Linked DNA regions of Homo sapiens: regions 2 and 3 are each linked to region 1. Evidence: promoter capture Hi-C in human tissues and cell types (Jung and others, 2019). All regions are on one chromosome and are shown on one strand. Each heading gives the region's core, a stretch centred on a gene start or on the middle of the fragment in contact. The rest is flanking DNA. Distances are from core to core; before and after follow the strand shown.

Region 1 (4,862 bases), core at 1,315-3,814:
CTGAGCACGTGGATGGTGTGAAGCACAGCGGCCGTGAGGCTTGGGGTCCCACTTTCTGCCAGCTGCCTGGCCGCCCTGCGTACCAGCGCCTGAACATCAGCCTCCATCTCTCCCATTGCCACTTCATCCAGGCCTCCTGGATCTCGAGGAAAGCTTCCTGAAACCCCAGCTGGTTCGTGCTGAAGTCCCTTAGATAGTGCCCGCTCACCTAACAGCCCAGGGCAGTTGGCGTAGACCTCAGGAGCCGACAGCCACATGAGGATGTGCTCTGCTTTGCCTTCTTCCACACCCACTTTGCCCACTTCCCCACACTTCAGGACACTCCATCGGATCAGGTATTCAGGATGCCCGTCATGCCCAGGCCTCTGTCGAATGAGTTCTTCAGGATATGCCTGCAGCCGAGGCCCTAAGGGCACCATGAGGTCCCCAGCATGCCGTTCCCCCACCATCCTGACCTCCTGGGATACACAAGGAGAAAGATAAGGCAGTATGAGAAAAGAAAAAAAATACATGGAGGGGGTGGAATCTTGAGACACAGAGAAGGTGGGTGGTGATCGGTAGGCTGCATGGTAGAATTTAGGAGGCCAAACAGAAAAGGCAAAAAATAGGATGGAATAAATAGCTGAACATACTTTGGGATTTATAACAGAAGGAGAATGGAGTGAAGACAGAGAGGGGATGAAGAAGGGGTTTAAGAAATGGAAGAGTTGGCTGCGCCCAGTGGCTCACGCCTGTAATCCCAGCACTTTAGGAGGCCAAGGTGGGCAGATCACGAGGTCAGGAATTCAAGTCCAGCCTGGTCAACATAGTGAAACCCCGTCTCTACTAAAAATACAAAAATTAGCCAGGTGTGGTGGCACATGCCCGTAGTCCCAGCTACTCAGGAGGCTGAGGCAGGAGAATCACTTGAACCCAGGAGGCGGAGGTTGCAGTGAGCCAAGACCGCGCCACTGTACTCCAGCCTGGGCAACAGAGTGAGATTCTGTCAAAAAAAAGAAAAAAAGAAAGAAAGAGAGAGAGAGGAAGGAAGGAAGGAAGGAAGGAAGGAAGGAAGAAAGGAAGGAAGGGGAGTTTACAAAAAGAGAATTAAAACAGTAATAGGCAAAGTAACAATAAACAGAGTGACAGTTAAGCAAGACAGTTTAGGCAGGATAGCAGGGTGGCTGAGGGTTACAGATTAGGACTTAGAAGAATGACATGGGTGGACAGGAAGGACAGCAGCATGTGAGGCAGTGGGATCAGAACATGTGAGGAAAAGTAGGATAGCGGAGGGGCAGGACAGGGAGCATAAATGACAGAGTAAAGCTGCAAGGTGGATGTAAAGGGTGGGCCATGGCAGATATAGAGAATGGAGATGACAAAAGGCTGGGATGTTGGGGCAAATGACTGGATAGGAAAAGTATATTCGAGTCTTGTGAAAGGGGGAGGGCCCTAGGGACCAGATAAAATTATGGGAAAGATGACCAGGTCCCACCCTGCCCTTATACTGCATGTATGGTAAGGATTTAAGTAAGTTAAGTAGATAAGATAGAGGTGGTAATCATGGGGTTAAAGGTAGGAAATGAGGTCAGGAGAGAAGCAATATTCAGAGACTTCAGTATCAGATAAATGTGACTCTGAATTCTGGCTTTCTGTCTCACTGTCTGCATAGTTTGGAACAAGTTACTTAACCTCTGAGCTTGTTTCCTCTTCTGCAAGATGGTAGTAATATTCATAGTTACTTCATGAATTTAGTAGGATCATGTATGTAAAGCACTTGGAACAGCATCTAGCACATAAAGAGTGTTCAGTAAACATAATCTGTTATTATTCTTAGATGGAGAAGGTAGGGGAGTCATCAAATAAATGCAAAGTTATTAAGACCGATTATAAATGGGAGTGGAATAATCAGGAAAGATATGCGTGATATGAAGCAGTGCAGGGGCAACAGGGAATAGTGAGAATAAGAATGGAAGAAGGTAAACCCAGATGAAGATATAGTGGTCAGGGCAGGGGTCATGTTGGGGTACAGGGACAGAAGATGAGAGTAGAGGTGAAGAGGAGGGAGAAAGATGGATGTGGACCTCAATGGAGGTAGGGGTCCACTTAGGATGGGGGGCAAGCCTGGATGGTAGCCAGCGATGTGCCAGCGGGCAACTGATTAGCAGCAGGGGGAAGTAAAAGAATCGGATAGGAGGAGGTAGGAGGTGTAACGTCGGCCTAGAAGAGCAACAATAAACTGAGGTGTGGGGGTGAGCTCTGGACGCATGGATGAGACCAGCAGATAGCAAGGTCAAGCCCAAGCTTGCAGAGCCGTGGGGAGGTGGAGGAGGCCAGCACCGCAGAGGGAACGGGTTTGGGGGGAGGGGGAAGGATGGTTGGGGGCGCGGTCCAAAAAAGCTGAAAAGATCCAGTGAATCTCAGAGAGCAAGACCTGGTTCCCTTCGTCAGCCCCATGGACAGTGGCTAAAGGACCGGGGAGGGGACAGGAGAAGGGGAGGGATTGGGTCGGCGCAGAACTCTCCTCTCACCTCCCACCGCCCGGCTCAGCCCTCGCTGGGACCCAGCGGCCGGTCCCGCCGTCCTGGCCCCGCCTCCTCAGAGCTCCCTTCCGGGTCACACGGCGAGTGCACGCACGGCCGGGCACCTACGGGTCCCACCGCGGCCCACGCCGAGCGTGGCGGAACAGCGCGCGAGTGGAGCATGCGTGCTACCGCGGGCGGCTGCACTGGAAGAGGGGCGTGGGGGCGCGCTACCGGAGGAGCCTGGGATCGAGGTCACGTTGCTCCTCTCTCAGCAGCAGGAAGAAGCCGTTTCCATCCAGTCAACTGTGAAGCCCCCTCCTCTTCACTGGGTCGGCCCTCCTAATCCTCCCTCTCCCATCACAGCGATCATGCTGACGAAACATGGTAACCCACATTCCCACCTTAAGGCTGCCCTTTTTGACTTTTCAGTAGGTCAGGTGCCCATGAGTTTCCCAAACCCTTCAGCAATGCTTTGGATTAGTTGTGTCACTTTTCCTGTTAATTAAAATTTGCTCCTCTGCGTTGGCCTTAACACCTAGCGAAGCCACGCACAGGGAGAAGGTCCTCGGCCCCGCAAAACTTTCCTTAAATTAAATCGTATAGAATTAAACAGCCCAAAGCACACCTTAGCATTACCGTTCTCATCAAGCAGCCCGGATCGCTACTCAGAGCAGCAATTTTAGGAGTTTGCCTCGCGTTCATACCCCCATCCCTCCCTAAGTAGAAAAACAGAACCAAAGACCCCACAGTCTGTGCACAAAAATGATACATTTATTGAAAGAGTATTTTTTTTTAATACAAAAGAAAGCTCTGTACATAGGACTGTGACCATGTCCACTATTCCTGGGTCAGCATCCCAGGGGAAGTAGAAACCACTGACATACACACTCACATTCAAGCACACACACTCACTCAGGCGCACACACCCACACACACATACCCCAGAGCCACCGAGGAAGGGAAACACCAAGGGTCGCTGCACATAAAAATATCACCTCAACTCATCCCTGACACACGCATGTCCTCCCAAGGCCACGCTCACACAACACACATTATAAGCACTTTGCCTGATTCACTCACTGGGTCTGTCTTTTGTGGGAAGGAGAGGAAGAATTCATCAAAGGTCTCCTCCCCATGGGTGGGGGAGTGGGGAGTGAGTGAGTGATGGTGGAGTGAAACAAGAGCAGAGAAAAGGGGCTGGGCAGTTACAGACCTGAGTCCCAAGCTCCCCTGCTCTCTGGCCCCTGATTTGCCATGCCCCAGCCTTGAAAGCCACCCATAAGCCCCAGCTATCTCCAGGAGAAAGCCCAGAAAGGTGACTTCCATCTTGGCACCCCAAACTGGGGCAAGACAGCAATGAGGGTTAGAGGTTAGGGGGTTCTCAAACATGTCGGCAAATCATCCCCTTGATAACTAGGCTGTGCATAAAATCTTCCCCCATCCCTTCACCTAATCACAGAAGCCAGCTTGTTCCTACTGAAGGCAGTCTTAGGGGTTAAGAAAATTTCACCCCACTGCTGCCCTGTTTCTGAAAAAGCTCCCCTTCTGGATATAGGTGGTGAAGGTAGGCTCTGACACAGGGTAAAAGACCCTCCCCCCTATGCTGGCCCACCCTCAAGGTCTACCCCAAAGGGGGAGGAGGGGGGTGGGGCATGGCCCCTGTACAAATTACATAAATACTGAGGTTACACTTAGAAAAATAAAGTCATTTTCTTCAAGGCTTTTTGTCTTAATTTAAAAAAGTTACAGTAGCTGCTCACTCCCTGGGAGAACTGCCCATTTCTGGCTCCCCTTTGGCTGCACTCAGCCCAAGAAGCTGCTCCCACTTCTTCTGACCCCCATTCCTGCCTCTCACCCCCTCCCAGACCCCACCCTGCTCACTGCAACTTGGGCCCCAGGCAGCTGCATGCCTGGGACAGCGCAAGGCTGCAATGCCCATGCGTGTGGCACAAATGAAGTCAGTTGCCTCTGCCTGACGCCCTCCCACCCCAACCCCGACATTTGGTCTCCCTCTTCCCTCTCCCTAGCAACAGCCCTAAAGGGCAAAAAGAGGCCCAGAGCTGTGGGTCACCCTCCCCACCCCGTTGGGGAATGGCCTGAGGGCCCCTCCCCCGGCTTTCTCCTGGAAACAACCCAGGACTGGGCAAACCCAGAATCTCCCCCACACACTGGTGGACCCCGAGCTCATGGGGTGGCTCTGTCCCCAGGGGCCCAGCCAGTTCTGGGGAGCCTGAGGGCTCCCCAGGGAAGGGGAGTTTGGGCAGGGAGGGGGACGAGAAAAACGCCATAAAAAAAAGTTAAATATTTTAAAAATATATATTTATAGATTTGTTTTCACTTCGTCTCCTCAAATAAAAA
Region 2 (4,862 bases), core at 1,734-4,233, 630 kb after region 1:
GCTTGCATTTTAGTGGGAGAGACAAGCAATAAAAAAATAAGCTGGGCTGGGTGTGGTGGCTCATGCCTGAATAATCCCAGCATTTTGGAAGGCCAAAGTAAGAGGATTGCTTGAACTCAGGAGTTCAAGACCAGCCTGGGCAACATAGTGAAACCCTGTCTCTACAAAAAATGCAAACATTAGCCAGGCATGGTGGCACACACTTGTAGCCCCAGCTACTCAGGAGGCTGAGGTGGGGGGATTGCTTGAGCCCAGGAGGCGGAGGTTGCAGTGAGTCAGGATCATGCCACTGCACTATAGCCTGGGCAACAAAGCAAGACCCTGTCTCAAAAATAAAAAAGTAAGCTAAAGAATATACTATATAATTTTTAGATATTGACAAGTGTTAAAAGGCAATAAATATTATACAGAAGGTGAAGGTGAAAACGGAGGTAAGGGCATTAGATAGGTTGGTCAGCGAGATGTGCATGAGAAGTGGGGAGTTGAGCTGAGTACTGAGTGAGAAGAACCCATCATGTGAAAATCTGAAATGAGAGCATTCCAGGCAAAAAGAAACAGCAATTGCAAAGGCCCTGAGGGTGAAATGAACTTGACTTGAATCAAGAACAGTAAGATAGCTGCAACTTTTAGCCAACAAGTTTCAGATAAACTAATAAATGCTATGCTCACTAGTAATAGGCATAGGTATATTATTCCTATTCCTTAGTAAAATTGTTTCAGATATGTGTTATTATTTTCAGTTAAGACTTCATGAAATAGACTGGGCGTGGTGGCTCAGGCCTGTAATCCCAGCACTTTGGGAGGCCAAGGCAGGTGCATCACTTGAGGTCAGGAGTTCAAGACCAGCCTGATCAACATGGTGAAACCCTGTCTCTACTAAAAATACAGAAATGGTGGCAGGTGTCTGTAATTCCACTACTTGGGAGGCTGAGGCAGGAGAATCACTTGAACTCAGGAGGCGGAGGTTGCAGTGAGCCCAAGATCGTGCCACTGCACTCCAGCCTGGGTGACAGAGTGAGGCTCTGTCTCAAAAAAAAAAAAAAAAAAAAGAAACTGAGACTCATAAAGGCAAAGTAACTTGGCCACAGTCACCGTGGTAGATTGCAGTTTTATGGCCCTAATTAACGACATTCCTGCCTCCACTCCCTTTGTAATGTGACTCAGCCACTCTTTCTATCAAGAAGTGGGAACTGTTTTACCACCCCTTGAATCTGGGCTGGCCTTATGATTGCTTTAGTGAATACAATGTGGCAGAAATGACAGTATACAGTTCTAAACCTAGATCCCTAAATATGGCCTTGGACGCTTCAACCCTCTCTAGGACTCCCCTGCTTTCTCCATGTGAACAAGTCCAGGATAGCCCACTTGGGGATGAGAGATCATATGGAAGAGAACAGAGGCATCTAGCTGACAGCCAGCCAGCTCCCAAAAGCAAAATCATTTAGCTGACCTGTGGATAGCTTAAGGTGTTACCGGTAGAGAGTGTCTGGGTTCTTGGTGCTTTGAACAAAGAATTGGACAAAATACACAAAGCAAGAATGAAGCAACAAAAACAGATTTATTGAAACAAAAAATCACACTCCATAGGGTGGGAGCAGCTAGAGCAAGCAGCTGAAGGGCTTGGTTACAGAATTTTCTGGGGTTTAAATACCCTCTGGAGGTTTCCCATTGGTTACTTGGTATACACCCTAGGTAAATGCAACCAGAGACTGAAGTTGCCAAGTTACACCCTATGCAAATGTCTGATTGGTTGCGAAAAGTGACCAATCAGAGGCTGAAGTTACAAAGTTATACTTCTATGCAAATGAAGACTTGGCCCTTGACCAGCCTGATTGGTTCCAGGAGGGGACCAATCAGAGGTACTTTCAGTTTTTCATCTGCCAGGCAGAAAACAGGGTGGGGTAGCAGGGAGGAGAGGCTTGCAAAGGGAGTAGCCTCTGATCATTTGTTACTTGGGTGTGGAAAGTTGGGGTTCACCCAGGCTGGAGTACAGTGGTACCATCTCAGCTCACTGCAACTGCGGTTTTCCTTTTGATTTAGTTCTAGGAAGTCAGTGTGAATCTGCCTTAGGTTCTCTACCTCCAAACCCTATTCTCCTGCCTCAGAGGCAGGTGAGAGAGGCCAGGGAGACCAGGAGCACTGGCCTAAATTGCTGACCTGCAGAATTGTAATCTAAATAAATGCTTGTTGTTTTAAGCCACTAAACTTTGAGGTGATTTTGTATGTACCAGTAGCTAATCAATTCAGTTGCATTGTTAGATCAGCAGCTCAACTGGCATTTGAAATCTGGTCTCACCAACTCCAAGGCTCATGTTCGTCCCAAGACAGGCTGTTCCCCCTACAGGCCTACTTCTAGGCAAATTATTTATTTCCTAATTAAAATAACCAAGCTTGTGTATGTTAGGCCAAAACCCAGTCTCCCTTCTTCTGGACTGGTCCTAAACTAATTAGTTGGGTTTCTCTTCTCCTGTCCTTCCTTCCTTCTCTCTCTCTCTCTCTCTCTTCCAGCTTGCTCTGTTGCCCAGGCTAGAGTGCTGTGGTGCAATCTTGGCTCACTGCAACCTCTACCTCCTGGGTTCAAGCAATTCTTTGGCCCCAAGCCACCCAAGTATCTGAGATTACAGGCGTCCACGACCATGCATGCTAAATTTTTGTATTTTTAGTAGAGACAGGGTTTCATGATGTTGGCCAGGATGGTCTTGATCTCCTGACCTCCAGCAATCCACTGCCTTGGCCTCCCAAAGTGTTGGGACTAGAGGCATGAGCCACCCTGTCTAGCCGGGTTTATCTTAAAGGCCATGGGTAAAAGATTGAGAACTTTCATGTCCTGGAATTCTTTCAAAACATTGGACATAGATCTATCTCAGGAGTGTCACACTGTGTCCAGAATTGGTGGGTTCTCGGTCTCACTGACTTCAAGAATGAAGCCTCAAACCCTTGCAGTGAGTGTTACAGTTCTTAAAGGTGGTGTGTCCAGAGTTTGTTCCTTCAGATGTGTCTGAAGTTTCTTCCTTCTGGCAGGTTCGTGATCTCGCTAGCTTCATGAGCGAAGCTGCAGACCTTCACAGTGAGTGTTACAGCTCTCAAAAGCAGCACAGACCCAAAGACGGAGCAGCACCAACATTTATTGCAAAGAGCAAAAGAACAAAGCACCCCCGCCACACAGAAGAGTACCTGATCAGGTTGCTGCTGCTGGCATTGGTGGCCTGCGTTTATTCCCTTATCTGGCCCCACCCACATCCTGCTGATTGGTCCATTTTGCAGAGAGCTGATTGGTCCATTTTACAGAGAGCTGATTGGTCCGTTTTGACAGAGTGCTGATTGGTGCGTTTACAAACCTTTAGCTAGACAGAGAGTGCTGATTGGTGCGTTTACAATCCTTTAGCTAGACAGAAAAGTTCTCCCAGTCCCCAATATCCCAGAAGCCTAGCCGGCTTCACTTGTCACTGGCACTGGCTGCGGGATTTTGGGGCACCTAGCCGGGCACTCCGGCAGCCCAGAGGGAGCTCGTCCCCCAGTCAAGCCCAGCAGGCGCCGGCCCGCCGCGCAGAGTGCGGGACTTGCGGAGCCCGCGCGCAGCCCCAGCTCCCGCCGGCGCCTCTCTTTTCACACTTCCCAGTGAGCAGAGGGAGCCGGCTCCGGCCTCGGCCAGCCCCAGAGAGGGGCCCTCACAGCGCAGCGGCGGGCTGAAGGGCTCCTCGAGCGCGGCCAGAGCGGACGCAGAGGCCGAGGAGGCGCCGAGAGCCAGCGAGGGCTGCTAGCAGGTTGTCACCTCTCAACACCAAGATAGTTGTATCCGTGGTTAAACTCTGTAGGCATACACTCTGCTTTTCTTGGGGACAAGGTTACCCGCCTCCCACTTTTACAGGGACATTGGCTTTGGTGACAGCCAATTGCAACTTTTTTCTTCTCATTGGGAAGTACTGAGAGTGGGTTTCCTTTAGTCTCTAGTGGGAATATTATAAAGCGCTGGTATACAAAGAGCCCTCAGACAATAAAAAAGTTAACAAAATACATTATATAAATAAATATAAACTAAAAAGATTCTGAAGAACATTTTATGTTTTCTGTACCTGTTGTTGCTGATATAAATTATCTCCTGGGACTGAACTTCGAATTGTCAATTGTCTAAATCTCCCATTGTACTGAGACACATCCAGTGGTCTATAAATTTTATCTTGGGCTGGGCGTGGTGGCTCATGCCTGTAATCCCAGCACTCTGGGAGGCCAAGGCCGGAGGATTTCTTGAGGCCAGGAGTTCGAGACCAGCCTGGGCAATATAGTGACACCTTGTCTCTACAGAAACCTTAAAAAATTAGCGGAGCATGGTGGTGTACACCTGTGGTCCCAGCTACTCGGGAGACTTAGGTGGGAGGATCACTTGAGCCTGGGAGGCAGAGGTTGCAAGAGCTGAGATTGCTCCACTGCACTCCAGTCTGAGTGATGGAGCGAGACCTTGTCTCAAAAAAAAAATTTTTTTAAATCTTTTCTTTCCTTCCTTCCTTCCTTCCTTCCTTCCTTCCTTCCTTCCTTCCTTCCTTCGTTTTTTCTTTTTTTTAAACAGTCTTGCTCTGTCACCCAGGCTGTAGTGCAATGGTGCCATCTCGACTCACTGCAACCTCCGCCTCCCGAGTTCAAGCAGTTCTTGTGCCTCAGCCTCCCCAGTAGCTGGGATTACAGGCATGAGCCACCGTGCCCGGCCATTTTTTCCCCCCAGTCTTGTAGAGATCTCTCCTGGAGTTTTCTATCTACTCCAAAACGGATTGGTTACCCTGTTGGCCTAGTTCCAGAGGTAGATTTCCCATGAAACTAGTAAAGCTTAAGCTTCAGGGGCCCTCACTGGCTTCAGCAATGAATTCATA
Region 3 (4,862 bases), core at 1,731-4,230, 530 kb after region 1:
TATCTATCTTTAAGTTCTAGTCCTCCCCCAAACGGATACATCAAGGTTAATTTTTTTTTTTAACTAAAAGAATCTCCAAACGAGTTCTCTATTACTTTAAATTAGAAGGGAAACATGTACTTAAATAAGTACAAACTTATTTAAGTTTGAACTCTATGACTTCATCAAAAACTAAATAAAAGCTTTATGTTTAAGTTTTATTTAATGCTGTTTATTGAAAAACCATTTTAAGAGGAGACTGCTAAAAGGCAGATTTTTTTTTTTTTTTTGAGATACGGTCTCACTCCCATCATCCAAGCTGGAATGCAGTGGTGCAATCATAGCTCACTGCAGTCTTGACCTCCTGGGCTCAAGTGATCCTCCTATCTCAGCCTCCTGAGTAGCTGGGACGAGAAGTGCATGACACCATGCCTGGCTAATTTTTGTATTTTTAGTAGACATGGGATTTCAACATGTTGGCCAGGCTGATCTCGAACTCCTGAGCTCAAGCGATCTGCCCGCCTCAGCCTCCCAAAGTGCTGGGATTACATGCCCCACCAAAAAGGCAAAATTTAATTACCTAGGAATGATTAGAAAAGCTCCATGAATCTCTATGAAAAAGTGTTAAATAATACCAATTCTGAAATGTGCATAAAATGGATTAACTGATTATAATACAGGTTGAAAATTTGTTTTAAAAAACTATACCCATATACGTAAAGGTATGTATTATATAGATCGTATATACATATGTACAAAACGCTAGGGGGTAACTCCAAAATGTTAGGTGAGGGTATTTTAAGTAATTTCTACTTTCTTCTTTATATTTTATATTTTCCAAATCCCCTACAATAAAAATGTATCATTTTTCAATCTGCAAAAGCAGTAAAAAAGTTGTTTAGGAAAAAAAAATTCAAGCCAGATACAGTGGTGCATGCCTGTAATCTCATCTACTCAAGAGGCTGAGGTGGGAGAATTGCTTGAGCCCAGGAGTTTGAGGTTGCAATGCTCTATAATGGCATTGTGAATAGCCACCAAACTCTAGCCTGGGCAACATGGTGAAACCTCATCTCTTAAGAAAAACAATGCAATCCTTCCCTGCTACATTTTTAATTTTCCCAATTACCTTGGACTGTTCTGCCCTTGAAAAGTGATAGAAATACAAGTTGAACTCTTTGGCACATTCTGGTTTCAGTTCATACATGCCTCGTCCTGTTAATCCAGGTTTCCTGTGAAAGAAAGGACCTTAGAATATTATTACCAAAGCCATACACTAATTTATGAGAGATAGTCTTGGATATTAGAACAAGAAAGCAGAGCTCTCATATACTGCTGGTGGGTGTTAAGCTACAACTATTTTCAGTGGGTTGATTTGGCAGTCTAAATCCGAGTTCTACATGCATCTGTTTTATTTAGCATGCCCACTTGGAATTTATCCTAACTAGACAAGTGAACGTGATGGACACTGCAGTGGCAACAATTAAAAAGTCTAATAACGTGAAATAACAAATTACAACATCTCCAAACAACTGAACACCATTAACAGTGATAATTTCTCTATTTTCACATGTAAAGACTTCCGTGTTGTTCTATTAAGCAGAAAAAAGCAGGTACACTATTGGGGTTTAGAGAACTTTCCTAAGCAAGTTATAAAACCCAGAAGCCAATTGAGACAGAGTTTTAAAAACAGAAAGTTAAAAAACAAGGGAGACTGGAAGAAAGTACTGTGATGTATTAAATAAGAATTGACATTTCTAATATATAATACTTTCGGAACAATAAGATAGGGACAAACAACCATAAAGAAAAATGCATTAAAGTATGAAAAAATAAACGGCCAATAAACACATGAAAAGAAGCTCAACTTCACTTAGAGTAACGCAAATTAAAATAAGGTACTAAAAGACTGCTCATATTAAAGTGTTGACAAAGTTGCAGGGCACTCTTTATACACTTCTAGTCAGAGTGTAAATCGAGGACTTTTTTGGGAAGGCAATTAGGAGGTATGTACCAAAATGTAATACAAGCTTTCATTTTGATCTAGCTAATCCTCAAAGAAACACTTTCACAGTCAAAGATACATTTGTTAATGCTGTATGTACAAGGATTTTCAATATTTGTTTATAAGAGAAAATCTGGAAGCTATGTATTATAGGGAAGAGGTTAGATACATTACAGTACATGACTACAAGGAAGTGAAAAAGGGCCTGGCACCATAGCTCATGCCAGTAATCTCAGCACTTTGAGAGGCCGAGGCGGGCTGGATCATCTGAAGTTAGGAGTTTGAGACCAGCCTGGTCAACATGGTGAAACCCCATGTCTACTAAAAATACAAAAATTAGCCAGGTGTGGTGGCGGGCGCCTGTAATCCCAGCTACTTGGGAGGCTGAGGCAGGAGAATTGCTTGGACCTAGGAGGCGGAGGTTGCAGTGAGCCAAGACCGTGCCACTGCACTTGAGTCTCGCTTTGTTACCCAGGCTGAAGTGAAAAAGGATGAAGTATGCCTATATGTACTGACAAAGTATATTATGTAAAAACTAAAAAAACCCAATAAAACCAACAACCCGCCCCCCCAAAGACACAAATACATGGAAACATTCCATTATTTAATTTTTAAAAAGGTTATAGAATAGTAAATACGAAATGAACCCATTTTTTGTTATAAATATGTGTTCCAAGTATAGAAAAAAAATTTAGAAAGATATACATCTAAACATAATAGAAATCATCTGAGTGGTTGGATTACAGGTAATATTTTTTCTTTGTATTTTTCCTAAAAGCAAGTATTGTCTTTATAACCAACAAAAAATAAAGACACTATCTTCAAAAATTTATAGTGGGTTAAAAAAAATGAATACATTGTCATTGGGGTAGGAAGCAAAGAAAAAACAGGCTTAAGAAACTGCTTTAATATCTTTAAGGGTATAAACCAGTTTATTGACTGGGGGAAGACTGTGGACACTGGAGAAGGTGGCATTGAGAGGCTATCCCACAATTTAGGCAGCACATTCAAATGGAAACAAAACAGTTTTAAGAAATTACAATGCATTTACTTAGATCACTGCTGAGGTTAATTTTTACTATTTGAAACCATCAGCTATGAACACCTATTCTGAATGTGACGAAAACCCTCACAATGTCACTTTACGTTGCTGAGTACAGGGTGAGATCAGAAAAGTGAAATGTCAGTGAGAAATCTAATTCAGAGCTATAATTTGAAAATGTCTGTCAATCTCTGAAAGCTGCAACTTCATTCTCAGTTGCATCAAAGAAAACACTCTAAGAAAAATGAATGTACTGGAAAAGTAAAAAAGAATGTGAAATAATAGGAAGTAAACTCACTTGAAATGGGCAACTGCTTCGATTACACTCTCCATGCCAGTCTCCTTGTTCTCCTAAAGGTACAGGACACAAGTGTGTTTCATGTTAATAATAACTACTAGCACTCTTAGCATTGTGTTTTATCTCATTGACCCTCATAACAACCTAAGGTAGATACACCTTATCTCCATTTTTACAGATGAGGATTCCATAGCAAATACAATGATTAATACAAAACTAGACATACTTACTCGGCAAGCTGATGTTTATTCAAATTGATGTATTATTTTTAAATACATAAAATAGATAAAACTTTATGATTTTTAAAAAGTCACTGCCATATAGAATCAAGGTAAGAGCTTTCTAAAGGAATTAAATGAAAACACAAAGTATATAAAACATTTAAAAAAGTTTATGTAAAATACGTCTGGTATTTTATAAAATAGTTGCACTAATTTCTTGTCTATTTTCAGTACAACAGCACTTCCCCAATCATATCTCATTCACGATAAGATATTAATAGGAATTCTGTGAATAAATAATTCTTTAAAATGTTTGGGAAATACAGTTACAATCACTTTATTTTTTATTTTTTTGAGACAGAGTCTCACATTGTTACCCAGGCTGGAGTGCAATGGCATGATCTTGGCTCACTGCAACCTCCACCTTCCAGGTCCAAGCAATTCTCCTGCCTCAGCCTACCAAGTAGCTGGGATTACAGGCGCCTGCCACCACACCTGGCTAATTTTTTTTTTTTTTTTTTTTTTTTTTTTTAGTAGCGATGGGGTTTAACTGTGTTGGCCAGGCTGGTCTTAAACTCCTGACTTCCTGATCCGCCCACCTTGGTCTCCCAAAGTGTTGGGATTACAGGCGTGAGCCACTGTGCCCGGCCGACAATCTTAAACCACTTAAAAAATGCTTTTTGAAATTTTATTGTTCCTTAAAGCTTAGGCTAAATTATAACTGCTTCCTAATTGAACAACTTGGGATTCACTTCCTGCATTAAAGCAGTACAAGTAATTTTTATCTTGACTAGATATTTAGTGACATTAAGGAATTATTCATCATTCGGCCAGGTGTGGTGGCTTATGCCTGTAATCCCAGCACTTTGGGAGGCTGAGGTGGGCAGATCACTTGAGGCCAGGAGTTCGAGACCAGCCTGGACAACATAGAGAACCCCCATCTCTACTAAAAACACAAAAATTAGCCGGGCATGGTGGCGTGCGCCTGTAATCCCAGCTACTTGGGAGGCTGAGGCATGAGAATTGCTTGAACTCGGGAGGCAGAGGTTATAGTAAGCCAAGACCATGCCATTGTACTCCAGCCTGGGTGACCAAGCCAGACTCTATCTCTCTCTCTCTCTCTCTCTCTATATATATATATAAACATATATATATAAATTATTGTTTTTAAAAGTGTGATAACATAAAGATAGGGTTTTTAAGAGTCCTCATTTTCTAGATCAGAGTTTTTCAACCTCAGCACTACTGACATTCAGATCAGATATGTTGTAGGGGGTTGTCCTGGGTATTGTAGGATGTTTAGCAGTATCCCTGGCCTCT

Evidence for each region. The method cuts DNA at HindIII sites, captures the fragments that hold promoters and counts their contacts. A contact is called where the count stands out against the background at its distance.
Region 2: a contact is called between a fragment that was not itself captured here and the fragment with the promoter of CUL9 in region 1, in 1 of the 25 tissues and cell types used here (spleen).
Region 3: a fragment that was not itself captured here is called in contact with the fragment with the promoter of CUL9 in region 1 in 1 of the 25 tissues and cell types used here (mesenchymal stem cells).

The regions. Positions count from the first base shown.
Region 1 is chr6:43,179,898-43,184,759 of GRCh38, reverse strand. It overlaps CUL9 (cullin 9), which reads right to left and starts at 2,564. Exons shown (of 41, transcript NM_015089.4): 1 at 2,511-2,564; 2 at 1-458. The coding sequence starts at 449. SRF (serum response factor) reads right to left here. Exons shown (of 7, transcript NM_003131.4): 7 at 3,254-4,862. RefSeq lists silencers at 2,364-2,413, 2,434-2,573 and an enhancer at 2,824-2,893. The HindIII fragment of the contact is 4,480 bases long and covers 1,219-4,862 here.
Region 2 is chr6:42,552,972-42,557,833 of GRCh38, reverse strand. No RefSeq gene overlaps it. Among named protein-coding and RNA genes, the nearest start is that of UBR2, 8.6 kb to the left of the region's middle. The HindIII fragment of the contact is 6,616 bases long and covers 1-4,862 here.
Region 3 is chr6:42,646,630-42,651,491 of GRCh38, reverse strand. UBR2 (ubiquitin protein ligase E3 component n-recognin 2) reads right to left here. Exons shown (of 47, transcript NM_001363705.2): 22 at 3,322-3,374; 23 at 1,106-1,208. Among named protein-coding and RNA genes, the nearest start is that of PRPH2, 74 kb to the left of the region's middle. The HindIII fragment of the contact is 3,772 bases long and covers 1,095-4,862 here.